Linked DNA regions of Homo sapiens: region 1 is linked to region 2. Evidence: promoter capture Hi-C in human tissues and cell types (Jung and others, 2019). All regions are on one chromosome and are shown on one strand. The core of a region is centred on a gene start or on the middle of the fragment in contact, and the rest is flanking DNA. Distances in the headings are between cores, read along the strand shown.

Region 1 (2,700 bases), core at 125-2,624, 150 kb before region 2:
CTCAGTTTCTTTGCCTGAAGAACTAGGATAATAAAACTTTATGGCGTTTGTACAAAGGTTAGAGATAATGTATGTCATGAGCTTGCACTGAGTAGGTGCTCAATAGAAAGTCTCAGCCCAGATTGGGGGTCAGGCCTGGGTAAGCAGAAATCACCTATTGCTCTTGCAGTGGTTGCTGAATTTCTCAGTGACACACCTGTACCTGGACAAGAAACACAATTGTCTGAACAAGAATAAAGTTAAAGGCCAAAGCACTCATCCTGCAGGCCCTTCCTAACTCCCTTTGGGACTTCTCACCAGGACCCTGTCTTAGGGAGGCATCAGTTCAGTTAGTTTCTCCTACATTATTGCATATTTTTTAGGCAATTTAGGTTGGATGTAAACAATAAGTAACTAAAAATAATGAGTGAAACACTAGGATTTAGAAGGAATTTTGATCTCATTTTTGGGTGTTTACTTAAGTGTGTAGAAAAGTGCTTTATAAAAAGCCCTGACAGCAAAACAGGCTGGTTGGGTTATTCCCTAAAGCTAGTATGCTCTCCAAGTAAGTTTTGAGCCTGGGATAGCACAGTGGCTCACAGTATACCAGATTAAAACATTTAAAACACAAAAATCTGGTGTGATAAACCTAACTTAGAGTCACAAATCTCAAAAAAAAAAAAAAAAAAAAGATTGTAAAGACAAGTCCATGATTTTTTGGGGTAACTCCATGACAGAAAGGTACAAATGAAATCTGAGCAGATAAGGCCTCCTGAAAAATCAAGATGTGATGGAAATCGCATTTCTGTACCTAAGTCAGTGGTAGGGATTCTTGGGAGGCTCCCTCTGCTGAGTTTTCTCATGAATCCCAACTTTCTATTCCCTCTGTAAGTGGAAAATGGGAGAGAAAAGCAAGACAAATGGATAAAAATGCACTCTGTCTCAAGATAGTATTCATAAGGAGCCCTCTACAAAGAATTTCTTCAAAAGAGAGAGATGAAAGGGGGTCTGGTTTTTGCTGGCATTTGAGCTGGCATTTGCAGCATTACCGTATGACTTCGAGCAGGGCATGAGCAGCTCTTTGATTGCCAAAGAACAGTTGCACCTCTGTCAGAACAGCCCTCATGACTCATGCGGCTTAGCGGCAAAGCAAGGGATAAGAGCAGATGTGAGGGGAAGATCACAGCAGAGGGAAAGTAGTTTGAATACCAAAAAAAGAACATATACAGAAAAGAGTACAAAAGAAGCGTGAGCATGAGGAAAGGTGAAAAGGACAAATTATTTGGTAGTCAGCACTGTGGCAGAGCACCTGTTGTCTTTAGAGACAACAGCATATCCAGGAGGAAATGCATTGTTCTTTCTTGATCATAAAACTAAATGACTGCCTAGAAAGTGTGTCCGTGGGAGCAAACACCTTCCTTTTCTGTTGCCCTCATGCAACAGAAGCCTGATCTATATTGCAGAGTGTGGGAAACTTATTCAAATACTATTAGTTTGAAAATTAACACTTTTTAATAGTGCTTACTATGTGCCAGGTACTCTGCTAAACTCTACAAAAATGGAATCATTTAATCTTCATGGCAACCTGAGAGATGGACAAGAAAACTGATGACCTTGTCTCTTTCAGTGACTCGTCACGGCTATCCTTATCTCCGTCCTTCACCACTGCATTAGCAATTATTATTTTTTTAACTCTTACTATATCAGGTGCTCCTTACATCATCATACATCCCTCATCATTTTAGTCCTTTCAACAAGGACTAAAATGCTGTGGGCACTATTTTCATTTCCACTTTCAATGAAATGTTAATATGATCATTTTACAATGAGACTTAGGAAGGCTAACCTACATAAAATGGTAAAACTGAATGGAAATTTCAAGAAAGATCCTGCTTAGCCTGTCCTCAGAGCTGGTGCCCAGAACCACCATGACATCCATATAAGGCAATAAACAATTCATTGGCATCTGGTGTATTTAGCGATATGAGAAATTCTGGTCCCAAGGAATTTCATGAGAGCCATAAAGTTGCTTGCTACTTCCACTCTCTGGTGGATGGGTTGCCAGACACCTGGCATTAAATCATAGGATATTAGAGCTCCCCATCTCTGTGTCACCCCCATTGTATCGACAATGAAACTGAGGTACACAGTGCTAACTAAAGTCAGAATCAGTATTCAAAAATCGCATGACTACAGTCTACCACCCTCTTTCAAGAAATTCTTGGCCCGGAAAAATGGATCTATATTAATCCAGCCCATTTTTACTGGATGTTTATGTCTTCACTGAATGACAAAGCACAGGACACAGGACTGGAACATAAATTTTGGCCCTGCTTTCATTGTTAATGGGATTAGAGGTCTTTTACTGTTCCATTTACTGACCGGTCTTGGAAAAGAATCTTATTCTGTCCTCTGTGAATAAACCTCACTTGATGAAATGACTTCTGCAAACTCCAGAAATGTTCTTAATTACATTAAAATTAGTCCTAAATTACCAGAAAAGTCTACTTGAAAATGTTTGTCAATTATTTTACTTCCAGATGGCAGACAACCACAAATCAAATCCAAAATGCATGCTGACATCTTTTAGTAGCAATCCCATATTTGGCCACAATCAACTGACTAATTCCTCAGAAAATTTATTCATTTGTTTAAAGAAAACCAACAGCACTTACTGTGTACTCTTTAAACCCCATGTAATCACAGAAAGTGAGTGGCACA
Region 2 (2,700 bases), core at 19-2,518:
GTTAGTTCACCTACATTTTAGGACATCTTAATAGTTTAAAATCAAAAAACAACTTTTAAAAAATGTGGTCTTATATGAACTCTCAGTTATACATTGCCCATTTTTTTGTAAGACCATTACATTTCCTAAATCAGTAAATACTCTAAATAATCATGAAGTTTGTCTTCACTTTGTTATTGAATCTAGTTGCAGTTACATTACGTTTTCAAAGTATTTTCTTTAGATGAGTGTCCCAATTCTGTATCTACATTTCCCCCAACGACTCACAGTCCAGTAGTTATAAGGTGAATAATTAAGATTGTAGGGAATCTAAAAGTGCTTGCAACTTGTAGGTTCTGGATAGAGTCGCAAAACATAAATAGAATTGGGAACCCTGTAACTGAGTTTGTTGAAACGGCCAGACCCCTAAAATAAGGATAAAGAGCAAGGTTTCTGTTGTTGTTTTTTTGTTTTCCTTTGCTTTGCTTTGCTTTACCTTGCTTTCAACGTCGGTTAGGTTTAGAATCTACATATTCAACACTGTTTAGAAAACGTACCTGGCAGCTATCTAGAGCTTTATCAGAGCGTTTCCTGGCTGCTATTTTGTTGTCTTCTAGCTTGTGTTGGGGAGACAGGTCTCACCACGCACCATTTCAGCACTACGGACAGCGCCTAGGCGCCTTCTCCTAGAAACGGAAGGGGATTCAGTTGTGTTTGTGTGGAAGAGAGAAGGGAAAGAGTAGAGGAAAAGAACTCCAAACGACACATTCAGTCTCCAGTTAAATCAATACACCTTTCACTCCTGAATTTTCCTTACCGGATAAGAAGAAACGTGTAAGAATTTAGTGCCTACTGTTCTACTGAAAACGGCTGTCACCAAAGCACAGCAAAATGCCCGCAGCACAGCCAGGAATGCAGCAAAGAGAGCAAAACAAGGATTTCAGCAGTAAATCAATTAAACCCTCACTGCCTTAGTAAACAAAGATAATGATGAAATCTAATTGCTAACCTTCAGGGTGTGTCGTGAGAAAAAAAAGGAGTGTCTATTTTTTTCTTCCTCTCTTCCTCTTTCTTTTAGCAGAACTGAAGAATAGAGCCTGTTGCTGCTGGAGCTGATTCCCTTCCCCTCCTCATCTCCCACCTCCTTTCAGTCTCACATACACACACAGATGCTGCCACAGACACACGCGAGCGCAAATATTTACACACTGCCACACCGAAGAAATCCATGCACGTTTTCCTGCAAACGCGCGCGCGCACACGTACTTCGGCGGGCGCCCACGTCCTCTGTCTCACCAACAGACACAGACATTTACACTTCTAGGCCAGGAAAGCGCTAACCAGGGCCCTGTGACTCTACGCAGGTTCCAGAACACGCCTTCTACATTTGTTACTGAACCGATCAGCGAACACAGACAAACGTGCCAACACTTAAGTCTACTGGCTGGACTTCATCTCCATGGCAACAAGCATGGAAGGTGAGACATCGCTGTCTGCGAAGTAACTTTCTCCCCCTTCCCTCCGCATTAACTGACAGCGTTCCAAATGCAGGTCCAGATGAGAAGCATGTCCTCATTCTCTTGTATTTCTGAAGCAAAAGAGCGGGGGGTGGGGCGGTGGGTGGAGGAGCCAGTAGGTCTGATAAGTTCAAATTCTAAAGGAGAAACAGCACCCCTAATGCTAGCGCCACTGCTGATGCGGCTGCCAGGCGGGGGAAAAGTGTTGTGTACGTGCAGATTGCTGATGCTTCTCCCATAATGTTTTGTAGGAAGTTTCCATGCTTCTTCGGTTTAGTGCGTAGAAAGAGACCTGGAAACAAACAACGCAGAATGATGATGATGGTCTAGGTTTCTTTAATGAGATATCTGGAGAATTTTCAGACCAGGTTTCCCAGTGCGTTGGAAGGATTGAGTGTCAGAGTCCTTGAGCCATCCAAAGATTCTCTTAAGAGAGAAATTCTCTTAAGGTTGAAATCTGAGGGTTTAGGGGTGGATTCTGGCAGATCCTAAGGTCTGGGATCTCTGGAAAGCCCTGAAATTTATGCATTTCACCATGATGAAGACATCTAGGTTTGTAATTTAAGGTTTTCCTTTTATTCCAACACATTCGATTCTTAATGATTAACTACCTCTGTGCAGATGTGGTTTCAATAATGCTTCTTTTCTCTCTTTTACTGGGATATAATCTTTATATTTTGTGTGGAGTGTGTATATGTATGGAATGGTTCATTATTTTTTAAGCTTGGGTTTTCTTATATGTCTTATTTCATGAAATTATGAATGTCATCATTAGCAGTAGAGATTATTATATCTAATGACCAGTGCTAAAATACTTTCTACCTAGAACATCATATTCCACTCTAATAGTTATTATTTCAGGTTTATTGTTTGGAATACCATTACTAGAGAAATAAACAAGAGGAAAAACCTGTTGATTAAAATAAAACACAGGAGGTTCTTTCTTTAATGGGTACACACTTTTTAACATTAGTTTCTGTAATTGTGCATTGTTGCATGATTAAATGATTTTATCTGAAAGGTATATTTTTATATCTCTAGTAAGGTTATTTCACAGAAGACATAAACATCACTAACAATATTCATGAATATGAAAGGCTGCATATCAGGTATAAAAATACTATCATCTTTGCTTAACTGCTTACGGAGATATGATTTGTAAGTACTGATCATAGGAAGACTTTGTTTTTTACTTACTAGTTGC

What was found. The method cuts DNA at HindIII sites, captures the fragments that hold promoters and counts their contacts. A contact is called where the count stands out against the background at its distance.
Region 1: a contact is called between a fragment that was not itself captured here and the fragment with the promoter of CTXN2 in region 2, in 2 of the 25 tissues and cell types used here (aorta and mesenchymal stem cells).

Annotation. Positions count from the first base shown.
Region 1 is chr15:48,039,273-48,041,972 of GRCh38, forward strand. The region is part of intron 2 of LOC124900354 (a long non-coding RNA gene); the gene reads left to right. Among named protein-coding and RNA genes, the nearest start is that of SLC24A5, 80 kb to the right of the region's middle. The HindIII fragment of the contact is 5,833 bases long and covers 1-2,700 here.
Region 2 is chr15:48,190,397-48,193,096 of GRCh38, forward strand. It overlaps CTXN2 (cortexin 2), which reads left to right and starts at 1,269. Exons shown (of 2, transcript NM_001145668.2): 1 at 1,269-1,457. CTXN2-AS1 (CTXN2 antisense RNA 1) reads right to left here and starts at 1,313. Exons shown (of 3, transcript NR_184082.1): 1 at 1,189-1,313; 2 at 537-665. RefSeq lists an enhancer at 1,273-1,776. The HindIII fragment of the contact is 12,187 bases long and covers 1-2,700 here.